Regions from separate parts of the Homo sapiens genome. Here all the other regions are linked to region 1. The links are contacts of gene promoters, found by promoter capture Hi-C in blood cells and fetal thymus (Javierre and others, 2016). All regions are on one chromosome and are shown on one strand. Each heading gives the region's core, a stretch centred on a gene start or on the middle of the fragment in contact. The rest is flanking DNA. Distances are from core to core; before and after follow the strand shown. Region 1 holds the start of QNG1 (Q-nucleotide N-glycosylase 1). Region 2 overlaps TUT7 (terminal uridylyl transferase 7). Region 3 overlaps TUT7 (terminal uridylyl transferase 7).

What was found. The method cuts DNA at HindIII sites, captures the fragments that hold promoters and counts their contacts. A CHiCAGO score of 5 or more calls a contact.
Region 2: a contact is called between a fragment that was not itself captured here and the fragment with the promoter of QNG1 in region 1, in 1 of 17 cell types (neutrophils). The highest score is 7.3, in neutrophils.
Region 3: a fragment that was not itself captured here is called in contact with the fragment with the promoter of QNG1 in region 1 in 1 of 17 cell types (total CD4 T cells); the score reaches 6.3 in total CD4 T cells.

The regions. Positions count from the first base shown.
Region 1 is chr9:83,955,319-83,958,038 of GRCh38, reverse strand. QNG1 (Q-nucleotide N-glycosylase 1) reads left to right here and starts at 1,297. Exons shown (of 4, transcript NM_032307.5): 1 at 1,297-1,875; 2 at 2,399-2,658. The coding sequence starts at 1,539. The HindIII fragment of the contact is 8,080 bases long and covers 1-2,720 here.
Region 2 is chr9:86,302,565-86,305,314 of GRCh38, reverse strand. It overlaps TUT7 (terminal uridylyl transferase 7), which reads left to right. Exons shown (of 27, transcript NM_024617.4): 23 at 76-123; 24 at 368-459; 25 at 2,114-2,229. Among named protein-coding and RNA genes, the nearest start is that of ISCA1, 21 kb to the right of the region's middle. The HindIII fragment of the contact is 3,720 bases long and covers 1-2,750 here.
Region 3 is chr9:86,319,279-86,322,265 of GRCh38, reverse strand. TUT7 (terminal uridylyl transferase 7) reads left to right here. Exons shown (of 27, transcript NM_024617.4): 15 at 2,596-2,682. Among named protein-coding and RNA genes, the nearest start is that of TUT7, 34 kb to the left of the region's middle. The HindIII fragment of the contact is 1,659 bases long and covers 841-2,499 here.

The DNA of each region.
Region 1 (2,720 bases), core at 48-2,547:
TGAGGTCAGGAGTTTGAGACCAGCCTGGCCCACATAGGGAAACCCCATCTCTACTAAAAATACAAAAATTAGTCAGGTGTGGTGGCTGACACCTATAATCCCAGCTACTTGGGAAGCTGAGGCAGGGAGAATCACTTGAACCGGGGAGGTGGAGGTTGCAGTGAGCTGAGATCATGCCACTGCACTCCAGCCTGGGCGACAGGGTGAGATTCTGTCTCAAACAAACAAATTTAAAAGCTCCGAATCCTCCAAAAATACCAAGATTTTCCTGTCGGTAACTAGAGATGGGTACTGATGATTATTTTTAATAGGTGATTTTCAAAGATGTGAACGTTATCCATGGAGATTTAAGTCTCCAAAAGGAAAAAAAATGCATACCTTTATACTAAAACTTCATCACCAGTCAAATTTGGATCATCACTAAATTGGCTTCTACACCTCTCTCCTAATATAAGGTACTTGTGTAAGTTTGCAGTTGTGAGACACTTATTTCCTCATTTTTAATGTCTTCTCAGTAGGGCCACTGATATAGTCACTATTTGACTGACCAGAATGGTTGGCACTGGTGATTGGCTCATAAAGTGCCCTCGATTTAGGGGGCTCAATTATCAAAGGTTTAAATCCTAGCCCAAACCATTGCTGTGATGGGGGTTAATCAATGAACCACTCAGCTTCACTTGCAAAAGCGGGATCACAATAGCCGCTTTCGTCATGACCCAGCCTAGGTGAGATTTAGTACTTAAGTACACTGCCAGGCACACAAGGTTAATTTAACAATTTAACACATTTGTTTCCTCATCCATTTCTCCAAACCTTCCAACTAATCCTAACGTTCGTTCGGCCAAATGGGCCAGGAATTCACTTAAACAAAAACAAAAAACAAAACAAACAAAAAAACACTCCCTGGGGCTTGGGGAAGGAGGCACCGCCGCCCATGTCGCAGTCTGGGGGTGGCTCAGTCCTCAGCACCCAGATCTACGGCCATAATGCTCTTCGAGGCCAAGGAGCCCGGATGCGGGGCGTTGCCGAAGGCGTCTTGCTCAGGCTGCGGGAAAGGAGAGGGGTGGGAGCGGGGTGGGGGCATCGCGACCCAGGGCAAGGCGGCGAGTCGCCGTCTTCGAGTCCCACCTGTCCGAAGCGGGGTGAGAAAAGGCAAAACATGGCAAAGCCATGCACCTCCCAGGGTGGGCAACTCACGGCCGGTGAACGCCGGACCCTTAGCAGTTTCCAGACCTTTGGAACCGGAAGCGGAGCCTGAGAGCGCGCCCGAGAGGGCGTGAACGGGACCGCTTTCCCGGAAGTGCTTGCGGCCTCTGCCCAGCGAGCTGCCCCGGGGTCTCTCTGGTTTCCTAATCAGGGCAACGCCGCGGGAGAGAACCTTTACCTTGGCTGCACTAAGTTCTCGGTGCCACTCCCTGGCAGGGCGGGACCTTGTTTAGGCCCTGTGATCGCGCGGTTCGTAGTAGCGCAAGGCGCAGAGTGGACCTTGACCCGCCTAGGGCGGGAAGAGTTTGGCCCGCCGGGTCCCAAAGGGCAGAATGGACGGGCTCCTAAATCCCAGGGAATCCTCTAAATTCATTGCAGAAAACAGTCGGGATGTGTTTATTGACAGCGGAGGCGTACGGAGGGTGGCAGAGCTGCTGCTGGCCAAGGCGGCGGGGCCAGAGCTGCGCGTGGAGGGGTGGAAAGCCCTTCATGAGCTGAACCCCAGGGCGGCCGACGAGGCCGCGGTCAACTGGGTGTTCGTGACAGACACGCTCAACTTCTCCTTTTGGTCGGAGCAGGACGAGCACAAGTGTGTGGTGAGGTACAGAGGGAAAACATACAGTGGGTACTGGTCCCTGTGCGCCGCCGTCAACAGAGCCCTCGACGAAGGTTGGTGCCATACTTGCCATCGGACCTAACGGCCTTTGAGGTTTCCATTTACTTGGGGTGTGTGTAGGGGAGTTCCAAGGAGCGGGTTGGGAGATGGAATAATGGAAAGCGAACCTGAAGTTCGTTGCAAGTCCTTATGCTTAAAATAGAAGTATGAAAAGGGGCATATTTTAGTGGAAAATGATGTTAATATTTATCATTGCAGCATAAAAGTTACAGTAGCATAAAAGTCAGTTTTATAAAGAATGCCATTTGAATGACACCTGAAGAACAAAAGGACCGATGTTATAAAGCAATTTACTCAGAATACATCTGATGTAATATTGCAATAGTTAGAAATGGGTGAATAAGTACAGATGAACAAGTAGAAAATGAGTTTTGCTTTAGATTTTTTATTCTTCCACTTTTGGTGCATTCCTATACCACTCATTTGGTTTCATATTAATTCCATGTTGTAAAAGCAAGGGTTTAATGCATATGGAAGTATGACATTGGTCCTCTGAATTTTATTTTTTCACTAAAGGGATACCAATAACTAGTGCCTCGTACTACGCGACAGTGACCCTGGATCAGGTTCGGAATATACTTCGTTCTGACACAGACGTTTCCATGCCTTTAGTAGAAGAGAGGCATCGGATTCTCAATGAAACCGGGAAAATTCTGCTGGAGAAGTTTGGAGGCTCTTTTCTCAACTGCGTCCGAGAAAGTGAGAATAGTGCGCAGAAGTTAATGCACCTGGTGGTTGAAAGTTTTCCTTCTTACAGAGATGTGACTCTGTTTGAGGTGAGTTGCTTCTGTTGGGGATTTTAGAAGTCTTAATCATCTCAGAGTTAACTCTTTTACTT
Region 2 (2,750 bases), core at 95-2,594, 2.3 Mb before region 1:
TGAACTTTACTTATTGGATGAATGGTGGCATTTTCTATTTGATTACCTTATTTGCTCTTAAATTTTTTTGCTTAGATCCCTTTGATTTGAATCATAATCTTGGAGCTGGATTATCAAGGAAAAGTGAGTTACTTCGTTTGTCAATTTTATTTTTTATTTTACTTATGTATTTACTTTTATAATAGAGACAGGGTCTTGCTTTTATTGCCCAGGCTGGTCTCAAACTCCTGGGCTCAAGTGATCCACCTACCCCAGCCTCCCAGAGTGCTAGAATAACAGGCGCCACCAGGCCCAGGTAGTTTGTCATTTGTAATACAATCTCTTTTCCTTTTAACCCGCCTAAGTGAGTTCTTACTCTTCTTTTTAGTGACAAATTTTATAATGAAGGCTTTTATCAATGGTAGAAGAGTATTTGGTATTCCTGTCAAGGGATTTCCAAAGGACTACCCCTCAAAAATGGTAAGTGTGTTGGAAATACCAAAAAATAAAAAATAAAAAAAAGTGCCTAATTTGTACACATCACTTCAGTAGTAACTTAAATATTTAGAAAGTCTGTGAGTCTAGCCAAAGTAAATGACTATTGTACAGAATGATTCCCAGAGCCCCCCTTTTTCTTAAACATCCCCGGGTAGAGGCCATCAGAATAGAGAGAAATAGTAAGAAGTTGGATTTAAGGTTGTTAAATTCTTGTTTTCCTCTTTGATGCCTTTTTTTTTTCTGGTTATCTGTGCTAGCCTTCATAGGTGCATTGCTGTTCTGCCAGCATTCGGCTTGATGCCAGCCTTGGCCAAGCCCAGTTTGTACATATCTAGAATCTAGATTTTCCAATCTGCTTGCAAAAAGTAGTAAATCTTTTGCTGGGACTAGGGGGTTAACAGTGCTTCCTGTAGCAGACAGCTATCTCTTCTCATGTAACTTGATACTCGAGTTTTTCAGGAACCACATTTATTGAAAACAAAGCAAAATTATGTCAAAAAAATAATTTCAGTGAGAGAAAAATGGCTAGGGACTAGATGATCTTGCTAAGAATAATATTATGTTCTTCTGCATTAATTTCCTTATACTTTTTATTCTTATTTTTAATTGACATACAGTTTATGGAGCACAACGTGATGATTTGATACATGTATATGGAATGATGAAATCAAGTTAATTAACATATATATATCACCTCACCATTTTTTGTGGGGAGACATTTGAGATTTACTCTTAGTTATCTTGAAATATACACTATTATTGACTATAGTCACCCTGCTGCGCAATAGATCTCAAAACTTATTCCTCCTGTCTATCTGAAACTTTGTACCCTTTGACCAGCAACCCCCTATTCCCTCTGTACTCCCAGTGAAGACTTTTAAAATTTAACGTAAGTGTATTGCTTTATAGGCACATTCAGTGTTTGATTACATCTGTACATCTGATTTATGGTAGATATTGATGTGGCTTCTACACCAGTGCTTCTGAAACTTGTTCGAACAAATCACCTGAGGATTTTGTTAAAGTGCAGATTCTGATTCAGCAGGTCTAGGATCAGGCTCAAGACTGCTTTTCCAGCAAGCTCCCTGGGGATGCTCATGTTGCTGGCCTCCACCTTAATTTTAGTACAAAGAGGCTACAGGCTAGACCATTATCTTTCCTTTGTTCTGTTATTTTTCCTTCAGCAGCCACAACTAAGCAAAGTAGAAACACATAGTTTTTTTTCTTTTCTTCAATATAATCTGTATGATGCAAATCATGTTTCTCAATTCATTATGTTTTAGCCTTTTCATTTGATGAGGAGACAAAGCCTGTGTACCTGGCCTCAACTCCCTCCCACATCCTGAAAAGCTGACTCATCCGCTTCTTTAGAAGTGTGCTTAAACCTTTAGGGTTAGGGCTCACGAGTGCTCTGCATGACTAAAAGGAATAAACAAAAATGGATTTAGTTAAAACTATCCTGAGTTAGACCTTGATGGTCTTAGATTTTGTTTGGAATTAAGCAGTATAAATAATATTTATTAAAAGTAATGTTATATCAACATTGAATTGTAAGATAACTGTTTAATATCTGGTTAGTTTTGTGTTCCGATCTCACGTGAATAGTTCAGGCTTTTATATATTTATGTTCTTCTAGGAATACTTTTTTGATCCAGATGTGTTAACTGAAGGAGAGCTGGCCCCAAATGATAGATGTTGTCGAATTTGTGGAAAAATCGGACACTTCATGAAGGACTGTCCTATGAGGAGAAAGTAAGTAAATGTTCAAAGGGGTTGGTTGTGTTTTTATTTTCTTAATGTCCCAATTTTTAAATGAGGTACTATTATAACAAAGAAAATACACTTGTGTAAAATCCAGCAGTTTTCAGATACATTTAAGTTTTTTATTTTATTTTTTAATGAAATGAAGTGATTTAAAACATGACTTTAGGCCGGGTGCAGTGGTTCACGCCTGTAATCCCAGCACTTTGGGAGGCCAAGGCGAGTGGATCACCTGAGGTCAGGAGTTCAAGACCAGCCTGACCCACATGGTGAAACCTCATCTCTACTAAAAATTAGCCAAGCATGGTGGCGGGCACCTGTAGTCCCAGCTACTTGGGAGGCTGAGGCTGCAGAATCGCTTGAACCCGGGAGGCAGAGATTGCAGTGAGCCCAAATCACGCCATTGCACTCCAGCCTGGGCAAAAGAGCAAGATTCTGTCTCAGAAAAAAAAAAAAAAAGCCCAGGTGTAGTAGCTCATGCCTGTAATCCCAGCACTTTGGGAGGCCAAGGC
Region 3 (2,987 bases), core at 421-2,920, 2.4 Mb before region 1:
TTTAGAATCACTATCCTATTTAGGTCTCTAAACATTATTAGGGACCAAGTCTATTCCATTCTCCATTGTATCCTCAAGCGTTCCATGTCATGTCTGTTCTGTTTGGGACATGCAATAAATGTCAAAGAAGGATGAGGAGAGATGCAGGGAGGATCTTTTTTATTTAAAAAAAAATTTTTTTTTAAATTTTGAGACAGGATCTCATTCTGTCACCCAGACTGGAGTGTAGCAGAGCAATCATGAGTCACTGCAGCCTCGACCTCCCAGACTAAAGCAATCCTCTCACCTCAGCCTCCCAAGTAGCTGGGAGCACAGATGCATGCCACTATGCCTGACTAAATTTTTCATTATTTGTAGAGACACAGTTTCCCTGTGTTACCCAAGCTAGTCTTGAACTCCTGGGCTCAGGCAAATGGAGGATCTTTTATTTTTCTTTTAATATCAAGTGCCTTCTGTACTTCCTTTTATTAACAGCATAGTTGTTGCATCAAGATACATAGCAATCATAGCAGGTTTCCTTTTTTGGAGGGTGATGGTGAGACAGGGTCTTGCTCGGTCCCCCAGGCTGGAATGCAGTGGCGCAATATCAGCTCTCCACAGCCTCTAACTCCTGGACTCAAGCAATTCTTCTGCCTCAACCACCCAAGTAGCTGGTATTACAGGCATGCATCACCACACCCAGCTCATTCTTATATTTTTTGTAGATACAGGGTTTCACCACGTTGGCCAGGCTGGTCTCAAACTCCTGACCTCAAGTGATTCATCCAACTGAGTCTCCGAAAGAGCTGGGATTACAGGCTTGAGCCATGGCGCCTGGCCAGCAGGTTTCTTTTTAAAGCTTAGTATTAAATATCTTTCCCCATTTAAATTTTCCATTACTCTGCCAAGAAAAAAAATTTTTTTTTTTTTGAGACAAAGTCTAGCTCTGTCACCCAGGCTGGAGTGCAGTGGTGCGATCTCAGCTCACTGCAACCTCCACCTCCTGGGTTCAAGCAATTCTCCTGCCTCAGCCTCCTGAGTAGCTGGAATTACAGTCATGCACCACCATGTCCAGCTAATTTTTTTTTTTTTTTTTAGTAGAGATGGGGTTTCACCATATTGGCCAGGCAAGTCTCAAACTCCTGACCTCCAGTGATCCGCTCGCCTTGACCTCCCAAAGTGCTGGGATTACAGGCGTGAGCCACCGCTCCCGGCCAAAAATTAAAATTCAAGTTACTTGAAGCCTGGACACACTTCCCTGGCTAGCTGGGCTATGTAAAGGTTGGTGGTGTTATTCTTCCTGCTGTGTAAGCAGATCCAGGCCCCAGAAAGAAGGGACCAGGTTATATAATTGTTTTTGAAAAGTTTGCTACAAAAATGCATGGCCTGTTATAAGCCAGGATACAAAGTAAGGATGAGGGTAAGGGAGCGACATTTTTTTCCAGAAGAAAGATATTTTCTGAAGAGTCTCAGTTCATAATTTTCCCAAAATCGTTGGAAGAGAGGGTAAAATCTCAATATGAATTTCAAAGTACTGTCTCTGTGAGGGGCCGAAAGTTGCCTTGCTGAGGATCTTTTATTAAGTCTTAAAATTAGAGTAGTAGCATTTCCCAGCTGGCATTCTTTGAAATGTTTTTCTAGATGGCAGTTAATAATATTTCATCACCAGAAGTATACCTAGGCCAGCGAGGGAATAACACTACACACTCCCTTCTCTCTTAGAATTCCTGGGTTATTTCCAGGACATATTAGCATATTGAAGGTATCTGAGAAATATTATTTCTAAAATTTGAACATAGAATAATTTTTGAGTAACGCTAATTAATAGCCTACTTAACAGCCCTTTAAGGAACACAAATTTGGGGAAGCATTGGTGTAGAGAGCCTTAAAGTTTTACAAAAGAAAATATTTAAAGGATAGATGTTCAGCTGCTTAAAATGAAGGAACTTGTTTCACATGGCTTCATCATAAGGTGTTCATCCGTGTCAGAAGACACGTGTTCTTAACAAGTCCTTTTTTTTTTTTTTTTGGGAAATTTTTTTTTTTTATATTATGAGCTATTAAAAAAACTAGGTTCTCCTTAGGGAAAAAAATACATGCAAATGCTCACAAACTTTTAAATTCACACTTTAGCGGGGTGGTGATTTCTGAAGGCCCTTTCTGTAACCCTGGTGTCTTTCAGGAAACCCAGGTGGAGATCCCATGTTTAAATTACTTTCCGTTTCAAGAGCACTTCTTAGATTCTTTAAAAAAGGACATCTTAAATTTTACATTACTGTTACAAAAATTAGCCAGGCATGGTGGTACATGCCTATAGTCCCAGCTACTCGGGAGGCTGAGGTGGGAAGATGGCTTGAGCCTGGGAGGCAGAGGTTGCAGTAAGCTAAGATCACACTACTGCACTGCAGCCTGGCCGACAGAACCAGACCTTATCTCAAAAATAAATAAAAAACAAACTTTACCTTGTTAATGCTATCTACTGAGAAGACACAATGATTTAGGAATTTTTAAATTTAAGCTTGTAAGTTTTATTTTCTAAAAAATAAATTTTTTTCAGCTTTTTCTAAGAGTGTCAACCGGCTTATTTTGTCAATATGTCTATTTATTTTTAAACAGAGGATTTTTCTCCAACAATTATAGAAGATCAGGCTCGTGAACATATTCGGCAAAACCTAGAAAGTTTCATAAGACAGGACTTTCCAGGTAAATGATTTATTTTTTATTTTTAAGAAAAGTAGTGTAACCTTTTTTCCAAATCAGTTCATGTGTTACAAGCACACTGATTTTGAGAATCAGGATTTCCATTGTTTTGCAATATACCCAGGATGGTCCTTGGTCTGCCAAATCCTCATTTACCAACAGAAACAGTGTAGGGTTTATTCTAGCAAGTGCCATAAGTGAATTTCATTTAATACTATGTTTAGAGTCAAAGTTAAGCTTACATTATTAAATGTGTTGAGGTGATCTAACATTTTCCTTGAAATGTCTTTGCATTTAAGAATAAAGGA